Regions from separate parts of the Homo sapiens genome. Here region 2 is linked to region 1. The links are contacts of gene promoters, found by promoter capture Hi-C in human tissues and cell types (Jung and others, 2019). All regions are on one chromosome and are shown on one strand. Each heading gives the region's core, a stretch centred on a gene start or on the middle of the fragment in contact. The rest is flanking DNA. Distances are from core to core; before and after follow the strand shown. Region 1 holds the start of ZHX1 (zinc fingers and homeoboxes 1). Region 2 overlaps FAM91A1 (family with sequence similarity 91 member A1).

Region 1 (7,461 bases), core at 3,304-5,803:
TTTCTACAAGAAATTTTTCCTTAATTATAAGCGTTTGTTTAGACGAGTATTTCTCAAAGTCTGCAGCTGCATGTCAAATGCAGATTCATGGCCTCGTCCCAGACCCACTGAATTAGACTCTTCCAGGAGTGGGGTCTGAGAATCTATTTTTAAAGAAAGTTCTCCATAATTTTCATGAACATTAAAGTTTAAGGACTGCTACTTAGACTTCTCTGCAAAGACTGAAACACAGTGAATTATTGCATTTTCTCACTCTAGCATTGCTTTCTAGTGGAGGAGTGTTCCCTAGGGTTATTTGTATGCTACATTTTTATGTTAAAAAATAGATACTGCCACTTTTTCCTTAGAAGTCATGCTGATACAGCCACTAAGGTTTTTTTGGTTGTTTGTTTGTTTGAGACAGAGTCTTGCTCTGTCACCCAGGCTGGAGTGCAGTGGTGCGCTCTTGGCTCACTGCGGCCTCTGCCTCCCAGGTTCAAGCGATTCTCCTGCCTCAGCCTCCTGAGTAGCTGGGACTATAGGCACATGCCACCACGCTCGGCTAATTTTTGTATTTTTAGTACAGACAGGGTTTCACCATGTTGGCCAGGATGGTCTCGATCTCCTGACCTTGTGATCCACCTGCCTCAGCCTCCCAAAGTGCTGGGATTACAGGCGTGAGGCACCCTGCCTGGCCAAGACACTAAGTTTTGGTGGATATAGAGTTACACACCAATGAATGAATCAACCCAGATGACACTATGATTAAAATATAAAGTGTATCAATGTGTTACTCTTTGAATGAATACTGGAAAATCAGTTTTCCTCTCTGTTTTTCTTGTTTTGCATCTATAGTCCTGTAGTACTATATATGGTCCTATGCTAGAAGTAGAGGGAAAGAGTGGAGTGGGAAGGAATTTTACAAGTACCAAGAATATTGACTTGTTTTTACTGTTGTTATTACCAATAACATTATTATTTTCACAGAGCAAGCACTAAGAGAAACAGGAAATGGCTTGACCCCTAAACTGTCTTAGAAAGTTTATTCAGCCTGAACTAGTTTTAGTAGGAACATTTTTGTTCACCTTCTAATGTAGCCATTACAGAAAATAGTGGGAGCACTTCACTAGGGCTAAATTCTTAAGTTCACCTAACTGTAGTCAAAAGTTTAAAGTGTCTTAGTTTGATGTCTTTTTGGCTGGTCTATTTCATGGTATCATGTTTTTAAAAAGACTTTTTCACAAAAAGTGGAAAAAGGAAAAATAATAACAGAAGGGAACTACTACAAAAAGTGCTGTTGGAAGCCTATTCCTCTTCAGATGACACCAGAGCTTAGAACTTTTTATCCAAAGCTCTTCATTTCCTACCAATATTTTTTTTTCACTGTTCCAAAGGTGGAAGAGGCTCTGAATAGCAAAAGTGCTGTGCTTTTTAAAACCTGCTGAACAACTTCTATCTCTAAGAGTACTGAAGTTTTGCCATACCAGTTTGAGTATGACAAACTGCAAAACATATGCATAAAAAAAATCTAGACTTCTAATTGTGCCAATCCATGGTTAAAAAAAAAAACTCCTGGAGCCACGCAGCTGTTAAAATCCATCATATTTACAATTTTTATAAATGAATTTATTTTAATAAAAACAAGTTACTCTGTGAGCCTGATCTCTAAGCAGATTTATGTGGGCTGGCACAATCTGCTATGCTAAACATATATTCATATTGCTTAAGTCTGCAACCAGTTTTTTTTTTTGAGTGGTGATGATAACAGTCTTGCTTTGTAGAAGGATACCAAGTAATTGGCAGCAATTCAGCTAAGGACATTGTTCTCAGCACTGTGTTTTCTTGGACAGAATTGCCCTGTGGGCATGACCCTAAACTGGGAGAATTCTGGATGGCTGGCATTGGGCAGTGAACCAGGGAGACAGCTTATAGGGAGGAGGAGGTGACTCTATAAACTAGTGCTAAAGTAGAAGAGGAGAAGGAAGAATAAAGTGAGGGAGGAAGTGGGGGTAAAATGTGAAGTTACAGTCAACAGCTCCACATCCCTAAAGGGGTCTCTTCTCATCTTTCACTTGACACATCTTTATGCTCCTGTTTTTTGCTTGGCTACTTGATTGTAAGTTCCTGGAAGACAGGAAAGTTGACTAACTCAGCTGTACATCTCCCACAGTGCCTGGCATATACTGGCACACACAAAACCTAGTCATCGGCCGGGTGTGGTGGCTCACACCTGTAATGCCAGAACTTTGGGAGGCCAAGGAGGGCGGATCACGAGGTTAGGAGTTCGCAACCAGCCTGACCAACATGGTGAAACCCCGTTTGTACTAAAAATACAAAAATTAGCCGGGTGTGGTGGCACGCGCCTGTAATCCCACCTACTCAAGAGGCTGAGGCAGAAGAATGACTTGAACCCAGGAGGCAGAGGTTGCAGTGAGCCGAAATCGCACCATTTCACTCCAGCCTGGGCAACAGAGCGAGACTCCGTCTCAAAAACAACAACAACAACAACAACAAAAGAAAACTTGTCATTAACTGTGTAGACAAAAGAATGAATTTCTCTATTTGAAGCATTTCCAGACCTCTTCCTCGGTCTAAAGAGGTTCCCAGCGAGGGCAGTACTGCCCCTCAGGGGCATACTGAAATTTTGCCGGGACAGTTTTTGTTTTGCATTCTATTGGTGGCAGAGTATTTACATTGTGAAAACTCTGTTATTTTAAAATTTTTCTTGATATTAGTACATACAGTATTTTATTATGAACTACTTTCTCCTTTTTCACCTTTATTAGAACATTACATTGGTTTCTTGAAATTATTTGTAGAGATAGTTTGCATTAGGAATTTAACTCCAGAAGAGTAAAGCAGTGTTATATTTTTTGTTGTAAATACAGGGCATTGAATGTGGCAGGGTTGAATACCTTTGCTTATAAAATTAAGCCTTATCCTACACAAGTTTTAGGATTCCAGGATGAAACCTACAAATAAAAAGAATATTGTAGAACACTGATTTCAACGATCAGATTCCACGGCCAGGCGCGGTGGCTCACTCCTGTAATCCCAATACTTTGGGAGGCCGAGGCTGGCGGATCACTTGAGTTCAGGGGTTCAAGACCAGCCTGGCCAACATGGCGAAACCCTGTCTCTACCAAAAATACAAAAATTACCCCGGCGTTAGGTGACGGGCCCCTGTAATCCCAACTACTCGGGAGGCTGAGGCAGGAGAATCGCTTGAACCCGGGAGGCAGAGGTTGCAGTGAGCAGAGATCGCGCCATTTCACTTCAGCCTAAGCGACAACGCGAGACTCCGTCTCAAAAAAAAAAAAAAAATCAGACTTCCACTTGAAGCAATTGCATCTTTTAGGATTAATGTGGCTCAGCGGAGCTCTGCTGTGCTTTTAGGATTACTGTGGCTCAGCGGAGCTCTGCACAAAGGGTCCGCGACTGGGATGGGGGTGGGGAGTGAACGTCAAGGGGCCCAGGAGCGCTCGAGCGTCCAAGGCCCGGCGTGTGGAGCAGCTGGAGGGTGAGTCGCCGCTCTCCGCTTTGGTTCTGTTCCTCCACGTTCTGACCGCGGTGCGGGGGAAAGGGAAAGTGAGTAGGGAGGGGCGGAGACGCCGGGCAGTGTTCCCGAAACCCCTGGCCCTCGCTGGCCCCGCTGCGGGGCTGGTTCCCTGAAAGCCGACGGGATGTGAAGCCCTCGACTCGGACAGAAGCCTCTGGAAGAGCGAGTGGCGGTTCGCAGGGAGGAGGGCGGCTGAGGGGCAGAGGGCGGCTCCGCCTTGCCCGGCGGTTCTGAGTGCAGCTGAACTGAACTTTCGGTGTCAGCGGGTGGAGCTGCGGCCCGCGGAGGAGCGGGGTCCGAAGCGAGGAGAGGTGGAGCTGCCGCTGACAAGGGGCGCGGCGACTTCTGTCAGGGCGCTGGGCTCCCGGCCGGACTCGCAGCAGCCCCCCGAGGGGCGGGGCCTGGGTCGTGTCGCCCCAGGGGATGGGCGTGTGATGACAAGGGGCGTTTCAGTAGAAGCCAGCATGCTTACCTCTCACGATCCAGCAGTGACATTAGGAAGGCGGAGCGCAAGGAAGGCGGGGCTGCCTTCTGTGCTGACCCGAGAGAAGACCAGGCTTCAGTCCACAGCGGGCGGAGCGGTCGCAGGCAAAGGGCGGGGCCATTTCGAGCCCTGGGAAGGCGGGGCGTCTCCTGACAGGGGGCGGAGCTTCCGCAGTCTGGGGCGGGGCTTCTGTTGACAGGGGGGCGGGGCGCCTCCCTACCTCCCGCGGTGCGCCAATCCCCGGACTAGGGGCCGGGGTCGGACCCCAGTGGAGTAGCAGGGTCTGGGCGTGGAGAGCTCGGCGCCGCACGGGGTGGGGGCGCGCGGAGGACGCGCGCGCGGGAGGGCCCCGCCTTGGCCGGCTCTCTCCCTTCCCCCTCCGCCCCCGGACGGCCGCTGGGGCGCGCGCCTCTCCTCGCACCCCCACCCTGAGTCCCCACACTCCGCGGGGCCACCGAGCTGCTGAGGCCCCTTTGCGGGCCCGCCGAGCGGTTCCGGGTTTAGGGTTCACAGGTCAGAGTTGACTCCCTGAAAAGTGCAGCCGGTTTGAAATGCAAGATGGCGGCGGCGTGGCGCTGAGAGGCGCGGCGGCCCCTGCAGGTAGTGGCGCGAGCCGGCTCCGCGACCAGCGGGCCCGGAGACTCTGGGCTGCGGGTGGGAACTGGAGCGCAGAGTCCGCGGCCGGCACGGGAAAGGCGAGTAGCGCGGGGCCTGGCGGGAGGAGGGCAGCCTCACAGCAGAGACCCCTGGGGCTGAGCCCGCTCGCGGCGGCGGGTGGCGGGGTGGACCCGGCGTGGGGCGTCCGAGGGGGAGGGACGGGGCCTGCCTCGCGGCTGGGTAGTCGCCGCAGAGGGACAGACAGACCCACAGCCTCCCTCGCTCTTTTTGGGTGTCTCCGCCACCGAAAGAGCTTGGGGGCGGGGGGCTCTCTGGAGGGAACATCTCAGCCCCCTGCCTTGGTGAGGACCCAGCAACTTAGGATTGTTGAGAGGAGTGAAGACTGCGTATTCCCAGCGGAGGGCGCCGCCGGAGGGAGCACCCCAGTAATGTTGGGAGTCCTAGAGGAGGTCAGGAGCGCTGTCCTCCGGGGGCGTGTGGCTGCCTCGTGGGGGACCCAGTCTCCCTGAGAGTAAGGAGAGATTCTCTTGCTGGAGCTGAGCGCACTGACTGAGGTTGGAGCCCCAGCAAACCCTTCAGGAGAAGTCTTTACCTCCAGTTCAAGGAAGGCTATGCGCACCCGTTTCGGGGCCAGGCCATGTCCCAACTTTGGGAAAGACTGGGAGTTGAGTCCTTAAGAACCATATTACGATTGTGACGAAGCCCTGGGATTTAGGGAGAAGTTAATTAAAGAGGATGGTAGGGGCGTGGGGGTGTGGGGGCTGACCCATGGGAATCCTCCAAGCCTTAGGGCCCACAGTGAACAATCTACTAATACCTCAAGGGGTATAAAAGGCTGGGAAGGAGAGGTGTGAGAGGAACAAGGTCTAAGGGCAGGAAAGAAGAGCCCTGGCAGATCCCCTTTCCTTATATATTTACACCAAAGTTGGAGGTAAAGGGACTTGGCAATTCTTTGTTTTAGTACCTTTCCTGTCCTCTCTCCTCCGTGGGTAACTGTAAGGAAAGAGCATAGCCCCTGAGAAGGAAAAGATTCCATTTGATATCCTTAGCTTAGGTTAGTGAAGGATCCAGCAGCTGGGAAGGCGTCAATGAGAGACAGCAGGCGGGGGAATTAGAACAGAGACTAGGGATGAGAAAAGAGGAATACAGGGAAGATATCGGACAGAGCAGGAATTCCACAGCCCTTTTCTGTCAACTCAGCCCAGCTATTAGAAAAAAAAAAAAATGCGAAGAGCTAATATTTGAGAGAAAAATGTAAAGGCTGAGAGAGAAGTCGTGATGTGATTAGGTTGGGATTCCATGTAACTTAAGCAGTTCTCTTGGAGGTTAATGTGATAGCAGAAAAAGGAAAATCACAAAATTGGAAAATATACAGCGGTTCACGGTTAGGGAGGAAGAAGCAGTCTCCCCCCAGGAACAGTGAATATTTGGTTTGGGGTGTGTGTGTGTGTTGTGTGTATACATATATAAGAGCACTTTAGATTTGCTGGTGTTGGTCATTGTTTCTCAGTCTTTGTCTGAAAGCTTTAATTTGTGTTATATGGTGCTACATTAATTATCTTCGTTTCTGAAAAATTATTCTGAAAAAGTCATTTGTTTTTATGTCGGGAGCGAAGGTGAGCAGGAGTTGGTTTTAACAGGGAAATTGGCCCTAGTATACCCATCGATTATTTTAATTTCTAAAGTAGCAATTCTGACTCCTGATTTTAAGCAAAAGAAATGTGAGTGCTGCCAATGACAATAATGCGGTAACAGGACATAAAAGAAAAAGGGCTTTCATGAATATTTTTTTCCTTTTAGCTTTTCTCTCCTTTCCCAAAGCATGTTAAGGCTAAGCAGACTAATTTTATACAAAGTAAAATGTATAATCGTGGACCTTTTCGATATAAAATGATAGCATTTCAGTTATCAATGAATCTTTTTTGTTGAAGTACCTCTTCAGACGCCTTATTTGACAATCAGGATTAAAATGAGAAAGGGTAATACTTGGGTAACTGATGATAGTGATGATTCATAGAGATTTCTTGAACCATTCTTGTATTTTCGAAAGAGCTTTAACGTCTTCAATGGAAATGTTTTAAAGATACAGTTCAAATAGAAACTAGTTTAGAACTTTACATTTGGAACATTTTATGCACGTGTGCTGTTCTTTGGTTTCCTCAATGTTCATGTAGCTCTGGTTTTATATTCAATTCTGAACAGATTAGGCTGGGTGAACCAGAGAGGCATTAATGCCAGATGGTTTGAAAATATGCTAAATCCGAAAACATAAATGTGCCTGTGCTAGTGAACACTCATTAGTGGATTTCTTTCCTTTATAGCTAAGCTTATTATTTCACCGGATTTGGGGGGTAGTTCATGCATGATGTAGCAATTATTTCACCTTTAATGATAATTGTAAGTTCTTTTTTTTTCAATAATTGGGGACAAAGTTTTACAGTTATTAGCGAAATTAATAGCATAGGAGAGGTGGTTCATTTTGAAGATTTTTCTCCCTTTTGTATTATTATATTTTATATTAAGATGGAAAGGTTATATTATGATGTATTATATTTCTTATGCTAATTAAGCATAAAATGTGATATTTGAGACTTAGTTTGCTGTAAATTATAACTTAATACTTAAATGAAAATGCTTTTAAAATTATTAAAATGATCACAAATGTAGCTGAGGAAATAACCCTTTTATTTGTGTTGCAGCATTGTGGATTTGGGCCCAAAGACTTTACTTAAATAAACAGTGTTGAAAGTTCAGCACCTAGTTTTTAATCTAATATCATAGTCAGTGCAATTATTCAGAGAGATTTTTGGAATTATCTATT
Region 2 (7,461 bases), core at 2,049-4,548, 510 kb before region 1:
TCAATATGCTATCTACACAAAATACGTAAGTGATGATTATATAAGTGAGCATGATCTGTTTAATTTCTTAGAAAAAAGTTTCATATGATCATGTCTTCAAAATTAAATATATTTATCATACCATAATTGGGTTGGTCTGGCTGTGCAGTTTGCGCAACTAGATCTTTGTTATGACGCAGAAACAGTATTGTGTTTCTCAGAGTAAGTGCATGATCAAAATATCTCTGTGCTTCTCCTTCACCAGTGCTCTGAACCTAAACCAAGAGAAAATAGATTTTGCAACAAAAATACCACTTTTATGCCATTCACTCTAATAATCATATAATAGAGATATAAGACATTATTCAAAAGTAGTAAATCAAAAATTTGCCCAGGCAATACCGAAACAAGTTATTAACCTCAGTCTTGGTTGAGTTCCCAATTTTACTACATCTATGGAGATAGAAATTACTTCAACTAAGACTAACAATTTTAGCAATTGAATAATGCTAAGTTATAGCATTATATGTTACATGTTCCAAATGATTCAAATAGAGTGCTTAAACAACTCTAAAACCCGTATTCTGCTCCATCTAGGAAAGTACTCCAAGGTCACCAGTTTTACCTATAATTCTCATAACTTTGTTCACAATTCTGTATTACCAGTTACAAGAGACACTGGAGTCTGTGATTCAACATAGCTGTTCACCATTGCTGAACACACAGCTTAAATTCACTCAACAAAGATTTACTTAGTGCCTCCTATGGACTATGACCTCCCTAGGAGATAAGGATAGAGTAATGGACAAAACCCCTGCCTTCACTGGCCTTATAGTTTAATGTATGCTCTTCTGAATAAGTCTGAATAAGTCACCTTTTAATAAGTAGAGACATATATCCCAGAAACAACACAGAAAATGGAATGATAGGTCTACCAACGGGAAAATAACTAAATCAGATTTGCATACATTTAAGAAATCAATCTTAAGATCAAACTACTTAAAAAATAGCTAAGAATCCACTTTAAAAACTAAGCCTCAGACTGAAAGGCTTTCCCAAGAATGACTTTGTGATGAAAAAGAACATAGATTTATGAGTAAAAGAGCAGAAGTCAACTTGCAATTTGCTACATTTGATAAAAGACTAGCTGAGGTGAAAAAAAGATAAAAATCAGAAAACCAGAACTTGAAATGTGCAGTAACATAGTAAGAAATTTATTAGTAGAAGATAATATACAATAAGAAATGGGGTTAACAAATAAAGAAGCATGAAGAAATAAATGGCAGTATAAAGGTAAAAGTAAAAGAGACCAATTAATAGCAAAGGATTATCTCACACATATTTCTGCACTAATAAAAGTAAAAATCCTATGGAGTAGGAGCAGTGAAAAATGTTACAGTCTTTTTTTTTTAAGATATAAAGGAGTTGCAGAATCACCACAAATTCTCTAAACAGTGCATTGAAAATACAAAGTTCATCATAAAGCACAAAAGGCACGAAAAGTATTAGTCAAGGAACAGATTAGGCACACAAACTATTTGAATACAAAGAGGCCAGAATAAAATATCCGAAGAATGAAAAACACCAATAAAGGGCAATCAGATTTATTTAGAGCTAAGGAAAACTAGGGCTGTACTCACGGGGAAAAAGGTGGTTAAGAGCAAATATGGCTGAAGTCTTCAAGATGCTAAAAGGGATAGTGAGAGCGGACATAAATATGATACCCAGGGATATTGTTCCAGATTCAAGGTAAATGGAACAAAAACTTCAAATCAAACTGCTTAAGAGGTGATCTTAGAGAGTCATACCAGAAAAAAAATTGAAAGGCTATTTTAGCAAAAATTCAACTTAAAACATTACAGACTAAAATTTCTATACCCCATTTCTTCATTATCTCAAATTATGTTAAGAATTAGATGAGGTAGACATATCACTTTAAAAATCACAAAATCAATTCACCCACTCAATATGTTTAAGTCTAAATGACTGTAAGAGTACTAATTTGGGGAATGAGGTAGGAACGAGCAAGAATACACTGAAAGCCCATCCAAATCAACAGACTGTATAATTGGCATTCTGTCAAGCAAGGACAGATTCCAAATGCCCTAACATCCCCTTACATGCAATCTACATTTACCTTTTCTAGTTCTATAAGAAAGCTGTCCAGAGACTCATCTGAGAGTTTGCCTACTTCAAACATTGTGACTGCATGACTTTTCAAGTTCTGAAAAAAAGAAACAAAATATTAAAGTTCTACTTCTCCCTTTTTATGCTAAGCATACTATCAAATATTTATATTATCCTTTCAAATATATTTAAACTTAAGGATTGGGGGGTGAGGGGCTAATTCTTCCAATTACAAAAGGACCTTCCCTGAAAGTTATTATACTCCTCTAAGTCAGTTGTGCTTCGGGAATAAATGTAGTACTTTAAAAAAGATATAAAAGCATTAAATTATTTTATATCTAGTATTTATTTTAAACACCTTCATATTTAAACAAGAATTGGGCTTACTGGTGAAAGATTTCCCATCATTAAGAAGGCAGTAAGAGTGGAGTCAAACAGGAATGCGATGCGCTTCGTGTGTCCTGTAGACAGACTCAGGCTGCTTACACTGGCTGTGTCAGCTGAAAAACACCATAATTTAAAATCAAGTAAATGGAAATTATTCTTTGCTTACCATTTGGAGTGAAAGTATTTCATTTCAGCTTTATTTGATAACCAGAAAGTACATAATTTTAAAAAGGCACTATTATAGCCATAAGAAGTTCCAGCCATACCTATTTTGAAGCGCAAAGAATATTAAAAAGCATTTAACCCTAGGCCTTGTCCACTATGCTGTGTTTCCCTTTGGGCTTAGCCTCACTATTCTCTCGGGCTGAAATGGCTTTCCTTCCCTGACCAGCTGGCAGGCTCTTCTTCATTCTTAGCTCAAATAACATCTTCTCTGTGAAGGCTTCCCAAACCTCTCTAGCCAATTAAGGGTCTCTTCCTCTTTGCACCCTACAAGCATTATAATTGGTGCCCGTGTTGTTGTAATTTGTTTGGTCACATTCCCTTCTCTCTCCTTAGACTTAATTCTTAGAAGAAAGGTACCATATTCTTGTCAGTTTTATATACCTAGGACTTAGCACAGTGCCCAAAATATAGTAAAACACTCAAAGACTGCGTATTGAATAAAATCTAAACTAAAATTAGAAGGTAACTGTAAGAGTGTATGTTTGGACATGTGCCGTACCTACAGACAGACTCTATGTTAAACTGAGTTACTGCTAACCTGGATCTTCTTGACTATTTGTATCAGTGTCAGTTGCCGATGAAGCTTCTTGTACAGGACTCCTACTTTCCCCTCCATCCCATGACAAGAGCATCTTCTGTGGATCTAAGGTACTCCTATTAATGAAGAATGCATTTGCTTTTTAAAAATCATATAAATGACCTTACATTAAAATATCTACTGAAGTTAAGACTTAAATTATGAACAATCCATCAAAATTCAGTCTTATATTCAAGCCCAAAATTAAGTCGCAGCCCAAAAATGCTCTGCCTACATACAACAAGGGTTCTTAACTAAGATCCACGGATAGGCTTCAGAAAATTCAAGAACCCTTCAAGATTTTATGTAAAATATTTATTTGCTTTTTTTCTGGGAAAAGCCTTCTTAGTTTTCATTATATTCCAAAAAAGATCTGTAACACACACACAAGATTAAAAATCACTAATATAAAGGGCTCACCTCAACTGACAGGTTGAATAAATAAAATTTCTGGGCCAGGTGCAGTGGCTCACACCTGCAATCCCAACACTTTGGAAGGCCAAGGTGGGTGGATCAGTTGGGGCCAGGAGTTCGACACCAGCCTGGCTAACATGGTGAAACCCCACCTCTAACAGAAACACAAAAAATTAGCTGGGCATGGTGGTGCACACCTATAGTCCCCACTACTCAGGAGGCTGAGGCATGAAAATCGCTTGAAACGGGGAGGTGGAGGTTGCAGTGAGCCGAGATCGCGCCACCGCACTCCAGCCTGGATGACAGAGAGAGACTTTGTCTCAATAAATAAATAAATAAATAAATTTATGTATGTAAAATTAAATGTCTTTTCAAAAGGAAACTCTAATAGCTCATACTGAATAAATTTAAGTTACTTTAATCTGTTTACGGATGGAACATTCTTCCATGATGAATGAAGTTGATCCAAATTAATTACTTGTCCCTTCTTATGGGCAAAGCCCAATCGGCAATACATTGAAACAGCATTCTGAAAGGAATATAAAGGAAACTAATTACCATTTAAAATAAACTAGACATCACAATATTTGTAGAGAAAAAATAGTGTAATAGACTAATAGTGATTCTCAAACATTTTCATCCCGTAACCAGAAACTATTTTCAGTAGACCTGCTCCTCCCTTGAAGTCTTCATAAATGTATAGGAGGGAATGTTTCCAACTCTCTGGCCTTGCCCTCCCTACATCTACCCCTAATGAAGCAGGAGTTGTTGCTTTAACGGACCTCACTACAAGATACTGCTTGGGCTGCTTCTTGCATGAGTGCTCTCTTTTCAGTCCATGTGTTTGAATCCCAATTTAGGGCCCCTTTTCCTGCTCTTTCCTGTCTTTGCAAGTGCCCCTTTACTGTGCACGTTCTCTCAGACAGCTAACAACAATCTCAATGTCTTCGTTTCTCAGTAGCTTATCAAGATAAAAATCTACTAGTAAAATCCACTCAGTTATCACATCACCAGTAAATGAGTATAAAAATAACATACCTTAACCAGGGATAAGTCAATCTCAAGGACATTTGCAAGCTAGAAGATAAAATTAAAATTTATTTTTACATTCTTAGAATTAACAGCACATTACACAGTTGTAATAGACCAATATAATCATAATCAGCAAAATTTTAAGTTATGAATAATTAGAAGACTGAATAAATTTTGAATTCAGAACTTTCTTCTTTCCCTATCTCTAAGATCCTTATAGTACAAATCCATGGAGTGACCATAACAATTTAAGATTCCTTACTCTTTAATTTCGTCTCATTTAAAATAAAATTCCTGGATAGATCAATATAGTCTACAATACTTTAGTACAAAAAGTCATATAAAAAGTTAACCAAACTATAAATTATTAACTTAAATTTTAATATACATTTATAAGAACGTTAAGAATAATGACATTTAAGTGTAATAATGGTATGATCTCCCCACATGGAGATTTTAAAAAGATACTACCATATTAAATAACTTTACTTACTTTACACAAACTTACAATCTTGAGATTATATTTTCATGAGACGTTGTCAAACTTACCTCTGCAACATTTGTGTGCTCATCTATTGAAACAAATATCTTATAGAGTAGAGTTTCAAAATAATCACCTTGCACTCGATTCATTACAAAACCTTCAAGAGGTGGAACTAAAACAAACAGAAGAGATTTTTCTCAGTGGTACAGATTTTATAAAACAAGAAAGTATAATTTACATATCTAATTAAAAAAAGAAACCTCTAACTTAGGGACTGAATGCAGCTTTTGATTTATTTATCCACTCCATAGCAAGTTTTCTGAAACTCTACAATACGTACACAGAGAAGACTCTGAAGGTAGACACGAAATCCACAGAGTTCATTTAATTCACCATGGAACTCAGAGTTACTGAGACAGGTAACTCAGAAATGCTGGATGACATGGACTTGGTAGAAGGGTGAGGGAACAGGGGCTGCTTCAGAATGGGGGAGCCTGCAAAGGGTTTCTGATACATGTGTTTTTGATGCCTCATAGGCAGCAGGGGTGAGTGGGCCAAAGCTGAAAAGCAAATGACTGCAAGAAAGAGTTGCTACGCTATACGAAAACCAGGTGGATGCAAAGTATTGGCTCTGTCTCCCCATCATCCCTACTCCATCCTAAAAATGGAAATTCATCTGCATGACCATCATGTTTACCAGAAGTCACTGGGCTAACTCGTTCTTTGGGGCTTTCTTTTCTGGTATCCTCCCCAGTGGGCCTCAGTGGCAACAGGGTCAAGATCCCCTTTAGCACAGTGGGCAGCCCAACCATCACTCTCCACCTGAATGTTCATTCATACTCACTTCTATCTCTTTGGTCCAAATGTTCTAATCTGATTTACCAAAGTGCTCTGCCCAGCCAATAAAAAACAAGCTCTATGCTTTCCTTTGCCATTCTCCCCTGTGGGTACATTCACCCTGAAAATATCCTGAGAAGGAGGAATGCCTAGGCCATAGTAGCATTTGGGTATCTTTATGTCCCCTGGCCCTAATATCATCTAATTGTACCCAAAAATTTAAATTATTCCTAATAGTGAAAAATAAGACAAAATTCAAATGGTCAAAACTGAGACACTGAAAAACTACAATGTACATACATCTGAGGATAGGTTATTCACTTTACAGATCTGGCTCATGTCATTTTCTAATTTAGTACTACCTATATTTCTAGTCATCTAGGTACTTTTAATGATCAATGGTTTCTTTTTAGAAATATTTTAGAAATCCCGTCTTTGACAACATTAATTATTTCCCTACACTATCAGCTATGTAAATAATAATAGCATTTATTGAATGCTTACTAAGTGCTAGGCTATTACCAAGTACTTTATATATACATTTTCATTTAATCCTCCTAACTCCGTGGGTTGTACAGTAGTATAATTACCCCTATTTTTAAATGTATCTATTTATTTATTTATTTATTGAGACAGGGTCTCACTCTGTCACCTAGGCTGGAATGCAGGGTGGGGATTGTGGCTTACTGCAGCTTCGACCTCCCAGGCTCAAGCAATCCTCTTGCCCCAGTCCCCCAAGTAGCTGGGACTACAGCCACATGCCAACACGCATGACTAATTCTTTTCATTTTTATTTTTGTAGAGAAGGGGTCCCTTTATATTGCCCAGGCTGGTCTCGAACTCCAGGGCTCAAGCAATTCTCATACCTTGGCTTCCCAAAGTACTGGGATTACAGGTGTGAGCCACTGTGCTTGGCCAGTTACCCCCTATTTTGAGAGATAAAGAAACCAAGGCACTATGAGATTAGAAATTTTCCTAGGCCAAAATTTGTATCTAAGCAAAAAGAGTAAGGTGACTCTACATGAAGAAATTTGAAACAGTGCTAGCATTTGTCCAAATGCTATTGGTTATCCAAAGAGAAGAAAAATAAGTTGAACCCTTATTCCACATCAAATATGAAAATAAGTTCCAAACAAACTGCAAATTTAAATATATACGACAAAAGTTCTCAAGAATTTTCAGACTATTTCTATATCCTACAGGTATTCCATTCAAGCATAACAGAAATCAGGAAGCTATAAAAGACACACAAAATACAGTTAGAAAATTTGATGAATAATGGAATAAATTTATTTAATAATAGAGCCTTTCATGATTACTCCCTTAAAAGTATTTCTGATCTCCATTTATATTTATATCACCAACCATAGTGCTTGTTTGTTTTGTTGTTGAAACGTAT

The links. The method cuts DNA at HindIII sites, captures the fragments that hold promoters and counts their contacts. A contact is called where the count stands out against the background at its distance.
Region 2: a fragment that was not itself captured here is called in contact with the fragment with the promoter of ZHX1 in region 1 in 1 of the 25 tissues and cell types used here (IMR-90 fibroblasts).

Annotation. Positions count from the first base shown.
Region 1 is chr8:123,271,378-123,278,838 of GRCh38, reverse strand. It overlaps ZHX1 (zinc fingers and homeoboxes 1), which reads left to right and starts at 4,553. Exons shown (of 4, transcript NM_007222.5): 1 at 4,553-4,622. ZHX1-C8orf76 (ZHX1-C8orf76 readthrough) reads left to right here and starts at 4,553. Exons shown (of 6, transcript NM_001204180.2): 1 at 4,553-4,622. RefSeq lists an enhancer at 3,203-3,322 and silencers at 3,803-4,492, 4,693-4,892, 4,929-5,296. The HindIII fragment of the contact is 11,288 bases long and covers 1-6,565 here.
Region 2 is chr8:123,782,406-123,789,866 of GRCh38, reverse strand. FAM91A1 (family with sequence similarity 91 member A1) reads right to left here. Exons shown (of 24, transcript NM_144963.4): 9 at 5,291-5,397; 10 at 4,748-4,786; 11 at 4,126-4,238; 12 at 3,257-3,372; 13 at 2,494-2,606; 14 at 2,117-2,203; 15 at 122-254. Among named protein-coding and RNA genes, the nearest start is that of FAM91A1, 18 kb to the right of the region's middle. The HindIII fragment of the contact is 4,773 bases long and covers 912-5,684 here.